Linked DNA regions of Homo sapiens: region 2 is linked to region 1. The links are contacts of gene promoters, found by promoter capture Hi-C in blood cells and fetal thymus (Javierre and others, 2016). All regions are on one chromosome and are shown on one strand. Each heading gives the region's core, a stretch centred on a gene start or on the middle of the fragment in contact. The rest is flanking DNA. Distances are from core to core; before and after follow the strand shown.

Region 1 (6,177 bases), core at 3,626-6,125:
ATGGAGAGGCACCCATCCCATGGGGGAAAGAGGTGTGTGTTTTGGGGTACTTCCTAGAGGTGCTAACACACCATCCTGATCTGAGTCCCTTTGGGCCAGCAGGAGTCAGCCACACAGAAATAAGAGGAAGGGCACCCTGGGCACAGGGAGCAGCAGGTCCAAAGTGTGAGTGGCAGCAATGACGAAATGGCTCAGAGTCCACACAGTTGGAGCAAAGGAGAAATTGTTGCAGAACTTTCCCCTTAGTTCCGGTAAAACTGGGCTCTTGTCACACGACCAGGAAAGATTAGGCTTGCGGACACACAGAAGGGTGAGGAAAATGGAATTTATTGGATGAAAAGGAAAAAGGAAAAATAATTCTCAGCAAAGCAAGAGAGAGTCCTGATAGCAGGTTTCCCGGCTCACAGATTGAGTTCCAGGTCAGCACACAGGAACAGGAGAGGCCAGGCTCCTCCTCGCTGCAAACGGTGCAAACTTCCCAAAGTTCCATTCCGCCTTCCCAGTGCACAGGTGGGCATTATTCAGAAAGAATCAGTCAGGAAAAGGTGGGCCTCATCCAGGACCAGCAGTCCAATTTTTGTCTTTGTTTCTGGTATTTTTTGAGACAGAATTTTGCCCTTGTTGCCCAGGCTGGAGTGCAATGGCACGATCTTGGCTCACTGCAACCTTCGCCTCCTGGGTTCAAGTGATTCTCCTGCCTCAGCCTCCCAAGTAGCTGGGATTACAGGCGCCTGTCACCATGCCCAGCTAATTTTTTTTGTATTTTTAGTAGAGATAGGGTTTCACCATGTTGGCCAGGCTGGTCTTGAACTGCTGACCTCAGGTGATCCACCTGCCTTGGCCTCCCAAAGTACTAGGACAGCAGTCCAGTTTTTCAGCCTTCAGGTTGTTTTAGACTTGGAGGCAGGGTTTCACCAGGGACCCTTGGCTGCCTCCTGTCTCTAAAATGTTGGTGGGGAGGCTGGGATACGATGAACAAGGTAGGGAGGACCCATCACACAGGGCCACATCCCCACAGGGAAATCTGGATTTTGTCCTGGGGAAACATGGACTAGTTTTTTGTTTGTTTGTTTGTTTGTTTGTTTTTTGAGTTGGAGTCTTGCTCTGTCACCCAGGCTGGAGTGCAGTGGCACAATCTCCATTCACTGCAACCTCTGCCTCCCGGGTTCAAGAGAGTCTCCTGTTTCAGCCTCCCAAAGAGCTGGGACTACAGGCACACGCCACCACGCCCAGCTAATTTTTAAATTTTTAGTAGAGATGGGGTTTCACCATATTGGCCAGGCTGGTCTCAAACTCCTGACCTCATGATCTGCTCGCCTCAGCCTCCCAAAGTGCTGGGATTACAGGCATGAGCCACCACGCCCAGCCCATGGACTAGTTTTAAGAGGGAACAAGATAGGTTCTGTATTTTTAAAGATTGCCCCAGCAGCAGTGTGGAGTAGGCAGTGAGGCGAGGGTGGAGGTGCTACAAGAGGGAGTGAAGAACTAATGAGGGCTAGAGCAGCAGGAGCAGTCAGGTGTTCAGACCAGGGAGGCACTCAGGAGGCAAACTTGGTAGGGTTTGGCCACTATGCATAAGTGAAAGCAGAGGCCAGCACAGATGCCTGCCAGGTTTCCGCCCTGGCCGAAAAGGTACATGAAGGTGCATGCAGGCTCAATGAGCAGGTATGGAGGAAAGAGGGTGGCTTCAGGGGAGATTCAGTTTTGGCTGCCTAGAGGCTGAGAGGCCTAAGGAATCCCCAGGTGGGTCTTTTCAGTAGGCAATGAGATAGCCTTCCCTGAAGCTTAGGAGAGAGGTCCAGATAAGGAAAAACGTGATGCTCATCAGTAAAAAGCTGACAGCTGGAGTCATGTGTGGAGCTACGACCTCTCAAGGAGTGGGTGTGTACACAATGAGAAGATCAAGCCCCAAGATAGACCATATGTGTAGGCAAAATTCTTAACAAAGACACTGAGACAATATCCAATAGAAAGAGCAAAAAGATCATGCTGCAATGGGCAGTGGGAAGAGAACTTCCAGAGGCCTGCAGTGATCTACAAGGTCAAACCCTGCACAGTGGGTAAGGAAAAACCCTGAAGAATGTTCGTTTGTGGCCACATTTTTTGCAGCCCTCATCAGCCTGTGAGTACAAATGAAGTCACATTGGCCGGGCACGGTGGCTCACGCCTATAATCCCAGCACTTTGGGAGGCTGAGGTGGGCAGATCACGAGGTCAGGAGATCGAGACCATCCTGGCTAACACGGTGAAACCCCGTCTCTACTAAAAATACAAAAAATTAGCCGGGTATGGTGGCGGGTGCCTGTAGTCTCAGCTACTCAGGAGGCTGAGGCAGGAGAATGGTGTGAACCCGGGAGGCGGAGCTTGCAGTGAGCAGAGATCGTGCCACTGCACTCCAGCCTGGGCAACAGAGTGAGACTCCGTCTCAAAAAAAAAAAAAAAAAAAAAAAGAGTAACCACACATATTTCACTAGCTTGTTGCCAACCATCTGTAAAGCAGGACTGATTCTCCCCTAAAAAATGCCCTCACTTCCCACCCTCCAAGGTGTATTTTCTGAGAGTGCCTGGGAGTGTCTCACACAAGCCAAAGGAGAGTCCACACGTGTTAGTCCACACGCACACCCTCTTTCCATCCACAGCACTTGACGCATCTGCAGTCCCCATGGCGGCTTTCCATTGAGATGCCCTAAGGTCCATGCTGGGTTTCAGCTCCTGCTGTACAATGCAGCAGAGGCTTCTATGCTTGTCATTTTTCACTGAGTTGAAGCCACAGCATTTTCTGAGAAATGGAGAGGACACCCGTTCTTTGCCATCTCTTTGTCTCCCATTTTCCACATGGTGCCTCACAAAAAAATTGCCTTTAGCTTGTGCCTTATGGCCATCTGTCCTAAGGCTTCAGACACCAGGCAGTCCCCGGGACTGAGTGAGAGGCAGACAATAGTCTCCCTGGATCCCAGCCTCTTGGGGCAGGTGACTAATTTGCAAAAGGTCAGGATACCTAGCTAAATGGTCATTTGGTGACATAGAGGCCATGATTAGTGTCTGCCAACAATTCAGCAGAATGGTTGACAAGGTCAGATAACAACAAAATGAGAGAATGGAGGTGAGAAAGGTACAGACAGTAAATTTCATGAAAGGGCAGAGGCAGGAAAGCAGGAAATGGGGAGTGGTGGTGGTGGTGGTGGCTTTTAACTTGAACACAGTGGCAGGCTGAGGCACCAGGAAGGGAGGAGCCAACAACAGACCGGAGAAGAGAAAGGCTCTGAGTGAGTAGCAGGTGCAAGTCGTGTGGATAAACCTCAGGCTGAGGGAACTTAAGGCAACAGCCTGAGGGCCCTGAAACAGACCCTGGACCTCCTGGCAGGGGCCTCTGGAAGGAGCCTGGCCACAGGGTTCTGAGGTAAAAGAATGAAAAAAGAGAGGAGGCTCAGACTCTGTGGCAGAGCCTACTTTGGAGGGAAGTGGGAAGTGGGAAGTCCGGAGCCCTGACCACGTGAGGGGCCTCCCAGCCCTGCCACATCCTTTTCTCTGGACAGAGCTGTCACTTAGCTCCCCCTCCGTGACTCAGAATCTGGCTTTCTCATTTTGCCATTTTAATTCTAGTAACGATGAGAGTCACAGTAAAAAGCTGCTTCTGGGAGTGGATTTTCTTCCCTTCCCTTGATCGCAGTATGCTTGGGATTCCTCTTACGTGGCAGTCGTGGTGTCCAGCTCTGGCCTTGGCCCCGCCTCTTTGAAGATACTCTGGTTTCACCATAAAACTTCCTGGGGAAAGGATGATTCACGTTTAAAGGACATAGTTTTTCCTTGATTTGTTTATTTAAGCTACCATACACTAGAGGGGGCCGGAACTAGACCCAGGAGTAGAGGACTTTGCTTTGCGGGATAAGGAGAATGGGCACCCTGGGGAAGAGCGAAAGATTTCCTACTGTTACAACCCGTGTCTTATAACACTTGAAGTGAATGTGGTGTCTGAGTTACAACACTACTTCCCCTCACAAACAGTTAAAAGCAGAGGGTCACAAACATAGGCTCAACCAGAAAAAAAGATTCTCATTTCATCTGTAGTTTTGTATCAAGGATTGTGTTGGAATTTGCCTCCATATTAAACTGCTGTTCAAGGGTTACCAACTCAAATGGTTATGGGGTGAAGCCGGTGTCTCAGGCATGGGCCTGTCGTTGGGACCTGTGGCAAACCAAAGCCACTACTTGCCCTATACAAAGGGGGCAACAGCTGTCAGCCCCAGCAGCTTCCACTAAAAGGTGCAAGCTCTGTATTGCCCGACCTGACTTTTCAGAGAGAAGTTTTAAGTCCGAATTGTTTTGTGAGACCTCCAGATTTTTAAATACTGAGAATGAATTCCATTAAAAAGATCACAACAACAAACACCCACCATACAGTCCAAGCAAAATGCTGTGAGAGCAACCTTCATGAGGAGTGCAAAGTCACAGTTTCAATTTCACTTCTTCTAAAGAGATTTCCAAGTGTTCTGTTTCTTAAGTGATTCTGTTTGCATTTTAAAATACAACTGTATCTCCTAGAGGGAAAACAAGAATTTGCTCTAAGAAGTCACTGCCTCCTCAGCCCCTTTGTGAGTAAGCACTTTATGCTTCCCCAGAGGTGACTAAACTCTGATCATTGCCAATGGGCAGGCACTCCCCAAATGTCCAAGGACAACAAAGATACCCAGAGTGTCTTTCATAGCTACCAATGATTAAATAGCAAGTATTGCATTCCTGGGCATTGCTAACTAGTGAAGTATACCAGATGGAAATGTCTTCGAAGCTGTCCCTTTAAAACTCGAGCAAGCTACCAGGCAAACTCCGCCTCCAGGGAGGTTCCTTATTAAATAGGAGCCAACTGGCTGGGTCGGGGCTCAATACCCCAAGCAATACCTGCAACTGAGGATTCTTCCCGGGGAGACCGCAGCCCATCGGCATGGCTCAAGAGTTTGTGAACTGCAAAATCCAGCCTGGGAAGGTGGTTGTGTTCATCAAGCCCACCTGCCCGTACTGCAGGAGGGCCCAAGAGATCCTCAGTCAATTGCCCATCAAACAAGGGCTTCTGGAATTTGTCGATATCACAGCCACCAACCACACTAACGAGATTCAAGATTATTTGCAACAGCTCACGGGAGCAAGAACGGTGAGTTTCATTTTAAACGGCTAGGGAAAGGCTCCCGGATTGCCTTTTCTTGTCAGAGCTGTGCCTTTCTTTAGGATAAGGCTGCGGCTCCGTACTTCAAGGCGTCCAGAGGGCTGTGCGGGGCGGGGGGTGTGGGGGAGGGCGCCTTAGAGAGGATCTCGGTCACTTGAATGAGCGGCGGCACTGCAGCCAAAGGTCTTCACGGGGCAGAAGAGGGAGTACAGCTGATGTCTGCTGTGCGGCAGGGTAAGTGGGACCAGCAGCTTGCCGGTGAGTCCCTGGGGAATTATCTAGAGTCTTTGTTTTAAGCACTGCCAGGAAATGACAGTTTTCAGTTGGCAGGGCTGGAGGTGGAAGCTGGGGTGGAGGGCCGGGTGTGATGTGTTTGTTATTTAACATGAGATTCATGTTCTTCATTCTTTTCTCTAGGCTTTCTTTTTCTAATTTGCTCATTCTTCCTTATCTAATTCCTCCCACTGGAAAAATCTAATGTACCGTTATCTGCCCCTTGTTCTAAATTAATTATGGATGTTTCCAGGCCCCACATTGTAGGGAATCATAGCCTGGAGTTCTGGCCTGGCTCTTATAATGGCTGGCTGTGTGATCCTGGGCAAGTCACCACCCCAGTAGTCCTCAAAGATCCCAGCTGCAAGACCAGATTAGGTGACCTCAGAGTCCCATTTGCTACGAATAGACTGTGGGACCCTCTAAAAATTGCTCTCCTCCATCCGAAAGACTTCCCTCTCTTCAGCATCCTTGGCTTTGCGTCCTGGGCTTCAGGAGGGATGCCAGCCACATCACCTGTATCAGTTCTGCTGTGAGGTGGGATGAGAAATGTCCCACCAGCTCAGCTAAGTTCTCTTTTACGATGCACGAATTCTACAGCACAGTGTTAGGCCAAGCACATATCCTATTTCAGTTTTAGTTTGACTTACAAGGTTGTCTCTGGGTTCTGAGTATAAAGCATTGGAGGTTGTTTCTCTCCCCTTCTCTCTAATAAGAAGTCAGCATTTTGGTGCAGAAAGGGGGCTT
Region 2 (5,954 bases), core at 2,733-5,232, 470 kb before region 1:
AAGAACAAAGCTGGAAGCATCACACTACTTGATTTCAAACTGTACTACAAAGCAACAGTAATTAAAACAGCATGGTATCGGCATAAAAATAGTTCCATCAACCAATGGAACAGAATAGTGAGCCTCAGAAATGAACACATATCTATGGTCAATTGATTTTCAACGAAGGTGATAAGGATATTCAATGAGAAACAAATAATCTCCTTATTAAATGGTATTGGGAAAACTGGATATTCATATAAAAAAAGAATAAAATTGGACCCTGATCTCACCATATACAAAATCAACTCAAAATGGATTAAAGACTTAAATATAAGACTTGAAACTATAAAAATACTAGAGAAAGCAGGGAAGAAACTATACAACATTGGTCTGTGAAATAATGTTTTATAGTTGACCCCAAAAATATAGGCAACAAAAGCAAAACTAGGTAAATGAGATTACAACAAAATAAGAAACTTCTGCACAACAGAGGAAACAACAGCATCAAGAGATAACCTACAAATTGAGAGAAAATATTTGCAAGCCATACATTTGATAAGGAATTAATATCCAAAATACATAAGCAACTCAAACAACTGTAAAGAAAAGAAATAACTAGATAAAGAAATGTGCAAGGAACCTGTTAAACTGTTAAATAACTGTTAAAAAACTGTTAAATATTTGAGGTGATGGATATGTTAATTAGCTTGATTTAATCATTCCACAAAAAAAATCACATCATCACTTTGTACCTCAAAGATATATACAACTATAACTTGTCAATATATAATAAAAATAAATACAATAGAAAATAAAATTCACATAGCACTGAAATTATAAAGCATAGTCTTATTAGACAAATTTTCTACCAAACCACATGCTATGGATGTATACGTGAATGCTGAAGATAAATATTACTTCATATCAGGGTCATTTACCCAGAGCTTCTAGTAGTAGTGCTTCTATGAAATATGCATGCTTCAACAAAGCAGGGACCAGTGTGCTGTGGAGGAGGAAAGAGGATTGCACTCAACAGGAGCATGGGAGCAGGGGAGCCAAGAAGTACAACTTTACCAAAGAGAAGGGCATTGTGATATTTTCTAACACTGTGATTTGCTCCCCCAGCCGTTTCAGTTAGCTACTAGAAGCCATGGCTAACCACTTTAAAGTGACACTATTAGAATATTTCAGTCTTTTTCTATTGCCTTCTTTTTTTGGTGCTTCATTGCCTTTGATCCCAGATCCAGCTAATGAATCAATTACATGTTTTTTGTTTGTTTGTTGTTGTTGTTGTTGTTGTTGTTGTTGTTGTTGTTGTTGTTTTGAGACTGAGTTTTTTGCTCTTGTTGCCCAGGCTGGAGTGCAATGGTGCGATCTTGGCTCACTACAACCTCTGCTTCCCGGGTTCAAGCAATTCTACTGCCTCAGCCTCCCAAGTAGCTGGGATTACAGGTGCCCACCACCACGCCCAGCCAATTTTTTTTTTGTATTTTTAGTAGAGACGGAGTTTCATCATGTTGGCCAAGCTAATCTTGAACTCTTGACCTCAGGTGATCCATCCGCCTCGGCCTCCCAAAGTGCTGGGATTACAGGTGTGAGCCACTGCTCCTGGCCCAGTTAAAAATTTACTAGGCCTTTTTAGAAATAGAGAATTCTGTCTTTAATTTTTAAGGCACACACACACACACACACTCTCCTAATTTAGGGTCCTGAGAGCTTAGCATTTTTCATAAATCTTCTCCCTAACTGAAATTGCTTAAAGTAGCTAATATGTGGACCCCTTATTCAAGTATTTTGGGCTTAAACTGTTATTTGTTTCAATTTCGATGGAAAAGGATATAAAAGCCTACATACAGACTAAAGTTTCTTAACCCATAGTTAGTGGTTTTCAAAAGCCTATGTATTTGTCAAGTGTAGTTCAAATTTGTTCTCAGGCACTAAAAAAATGACACTAATATTCCCAATAGAATATATTTAGAATTAATAATAATTGCTAAACTTCCCATTTGCCAGGCCCTGTCCCAAGCACTTTACTTTTAATAACTTATTTGGACTTCACAGCAATACACAGAAATAAGTACAATTACTTCAACAGTGAGAAATGAAGTCAAATACCCTTTCTGCATCCAGAATTCTGTCTCTGCCATCTAGTTGACCAATTACTCTTATCCCGTGTTAATGACTGCCAAATAGCAATTTGAAACAAAGATTAATTTATTGGATTGTCTAGCAAGGGTGGTCTGTATTACTCAGCTATGAGCACTTCTTACTAAGCAGAAACTAAAAGAAATAGATTTAAAGTCAAAAGAGGAGAAAGAGAATATTCTGAGCCCAGGCCTCTGGATTGTTTACATCCTGTTTTGTAACGGTGGCTTACAGGTTTTGCACCATTGCTACAGAGAAGCTTCTTTTCCAACAAGTCCAGGATGAATTGTGTAAGATTCCTGTGGGCCTAGGGTCATCAGGCTACACGCACATGTTTAAAGTTTAGCAAGATTTCTATTTAGCATTAAGCAAATACCATGTGGCAACAGATCTGTATATGTGGTAAGACTGGAGTTTGGCTGGAGTGAAATGAATGTGAATCAGATGCTTCTACATTTCTCTATTCTCTGAGAGCACCCGCACATTCACCACAAAAAAGACCATAGGAGATGAACTCTAGTCATTTCTAACTTGCTTACAAGCATTCTATTTAGAAATTGTTCTGCATATAGTGCTCCCGGGTCTTATAGGAAAGACACCATAAACTATGAAGAAAAATTTTGTTGGTTCTACTAGGATTTAAAAACGTGGAAGCCAGGCATAGCCATACCACTACTTAAGATAAAGAAAAAAAAAGAATAAAAGCAAACAAAAAATGATAGCTATTTCAGATTACTTGAGCCTAGTTCATCTTTGCCTCCTCTGTCACTAGCAAAGGATATATTTCTAATTCCCACTGGCTCAGGTTTATCTTCCTGCTTAGTTAACAGCAAGACATGAGGAGAGCATAAAAAAATGTGCCATGGGTTGATAGAGTTGCTGCAAAAATCTCATCCCAAGAGCTGTTTCATGTCAAGCATCTAGGTTGGGATGAGGGAAGGGATGACATCACCCCAGTTCTCTCCCTCACCAGCAGCAGCTTGCCACAGCAACAGCAAAGCCACCAGACACACACACTGCTACATCTGGTTGGATATGGAGGAAAACCTTACTCAGAGTAGAAATAAGAAATTGTCTATTAGGTTGCTTCCTTCTCTACCCCCAAGTTTTTCCTCAAATTATTCGTTTGAATAAAGCAGTTGTTGTTCCTTGAATTTCCCTTTCAAAAACATTCTCCTGGAAAGGACAACCACTCAGTCATATTAATTCCCTGCTCAAAACTTTCCAGCTAATTCTGACTCTTTATCAAATGCTACACATCAGTGACAAAATAACCTACTGGAACAGAAAGCTGTCTAAATATGTAAAAAATGAACTAATTTCTATCTTGTGCATTAAAATCTTTCTAAGAGAATGTAATTAATTGTTCACACTGAAAATATACTCCAGTTTTACAACTCTTATGATTTTATAACTGACACCAGAAGACATAAAAACAATTCAGAGTAATGCAAACCCAATTACCAAATATTATCGAATGTAGAGAAGCAATAGAAAAGCATCAGTTAGGGCCCAAGAGGGTAGTCAGCAAGCCATTATGAAATCTGAAGTTGGGACAACTTCCTAGCATTTCTGTTACTGAAAACCAGTCCATGATTAAAACTGAGGAACAGATAGCAAAGACACATTTTCCTCCAAACCTGCAGTATTACAATAGCCTGGATATAACCAACACAGTTGAGCAGACATCAGCAGAGAGTTAACACAACCAGCAACTAGGAGTCAGAAATTTACCCAAATATCTCTGCTCAGTTTCAATTCACAAGATTCTTGGTTTATCTGATACTATCTATTTTTAGCATCATGAAATTTGTATAGATTCACTCTTCAGGTTGTTTTGCAGGTAACAAAAATAGCAAAGACCTATCCTCTATAATCTGAGAATTTATTCTCCAGACACAAAAGGATGCTTCAACAGAAAATAATTTGCAAAGAATTATAAAACAATATGACAACAACCATAAAGTAATATCTTATGAATTTAATACATATAAGCTGAAGATTTACATTAGAAAGTAATCAAACTAGGATAGGTTTAGCCAGAAAAGGCCTCCTGAAGATGGTTTTGTAACACATTTTAAAGGGACTTAACAGACATCAATTTTCAGTGGGAAGAATGGAAGGTACTAGCAAAGTCAAAGATACTGTATTATTTCTAGTGAAAAGACCATGATGTAGAGAAATAAAAGAGGATCTAACCAGGCCGGAGAATGTAGCAAACCCTGTAGAAGGAAACATTGTAATGTGGGATCTGAAATCCAATTAGATTTTTTGCATGTTGGCTAGTTTTATACTTGAAATAATACAGCTCCTCTTAAACAGGAAAAACTATACAAAACATTTGCACAAAACTTTAGGAATTTTATAGCATTTATATTCTCTCTAATTATAAAAGTAACAACTGTTCATGGTAGAACATTTGAAAAATATAGTAAAGTACAAAGAAGAGAGTTAAAATCTTCTATAATACCACATTTAGACATAACAACTGTTAACTCAGAGTCTTTCAATTTAGTCTGTGTATGTGTGTGTGCATATATATATATGTGTGCATACATGATGCCCTTTGTACACAAAATTGGACATCTTACTGCTCATACCATTTCGTGTATTTTTTCCACTTTCAATATTTTGAAACAAGCAGTCTGCTTTACGTGACACTTCTCATAGGACTTTTTTGTCATTCCGGTTTCATTGACACTTATTTTTTTCAATCTCCATTATGTCTGGCAAGTAGGAAAAATTTCAAATAAATCCCCAGTTATATTATCTGAAAGAAGTAATCATTAGCTGAAGAAATATCGTAGGTCGATACGAACATATTTTGGTTTCCTAGACTAAAATATTCAGAGATGACTAAGTTAGTAAAGATTTGATACACCCCAATTCTGTTAGGCAATAAGGAACTAACCTCTTGTTCCAAATATCGTTTGTCTCGTCTTCAAATTAGTGAAGAGACACTTTTGTTTACCACTGTCAATGTCATTATCAAATCCCATTTTTGAAAGAAGTGTGTCATGCCCAGGGCATAAAGTCCTCAGTGATTTCATTGGTTCAAAGAGGTTGCATTGTACTACTTTTCCATCACCCTCTAAATAGTGTGACATGGACCAAAGTCAAGCATGTCTCCTTCGAAAATCAGCTTATCCCACTCAGGCACAAAAGCAGTAGTTCATTTTTACTACATCTCCATGGGGGGCATTCGATTCAAAAGAGAGATTCAAAAAGCACTATAGTTACTCAAGGTAACAATTATTTTTCTTCATGAAAAAAACAAAGTTATTTCCATTATGCATTTGAGTTTCTTATTGAGAATTTCTACTAGTTTGTTTGCTTCAGTATTCTCCATAGTAACAAATACAGGGAAGCAGCTTTTCCCTTTGTAGTGAATGATCCACAGATAGAGAAACACAACATTGGTGACTGTTTCCCTATCAACTAATGAAGCTTTCCTCTGGAGATGCTTATGTGCCCAGTAGCCTGGGTAAGGTGACATGAGCAGACAAATATTATATGCCTTGCTCTCCCTCTATTTTGGAAAACTTAATGTTACAGGAAATAGAGCATTTCAATACAGGATGAAAATAACATCAAGTGAGAAGGCCTCTATGCTGACAGCTGCACAGAACTATTTACTTTCCTCTACCATGTGAAGTAGAGTGACCTTTCCAAAGCCTGGCGGCTAGAAATAGTCAACGAAATGCTGGCAACCTTAGCTGGTGACTTAGTTGTTTTAAATGAGAAAATGTATATAAACATATCACTTAGGTTTGGACACTTGCAAAAATATTGAAAGATCAAATATTTCTAGAATCTGCATAAATGCT

Evidence for each region. The method cuts DNA at HindIII sites, captures the fragments that hold promoters and counts their contacts. A CHiCAGO score of 5 or more calls a contact.
Region 2: a fragment that was not itself captured here is called in contact with the fragment with the promoter of GLRX in region 1 in 2 of 17 cell types (M2 macrophages and M1 macrophages); the score reaches 9.3 in M2 macrophages.

The regions. Positions count from the first base shown.
Region 1 is chr5:95,821,424-95,827,600 of GRCh38, reverse strand. It overlaps GLRX (glutaredoxin), which reads left to right and starts at 4,875. Exons shown (of 3, transcript NM_001118890.2): 1 at 4,875-5,145. The coding sequence starts at 4,939. RefSeq lists enhancers at 3,627-4,127, 4,358-4,447. The HindIII fragment of the contact is 7,969 bases long and covers 1,787-6,177 here.
Region 2 is chr5:96,294,600-96,300,553 of GRCh38, reverse strand. All of the region lies in intron 1 of LOC101929710 (a long non-coding RNA gene), which reads right to left. It also overlaps a transcript of CAST not described here. Among named protein-coding and RNA genes, the nearest start is that of PCSK1, 140 kb to the left of the region's middle. The HindIII fragment of the contact is 3,188 bases long and covers 2,389-5,576 here.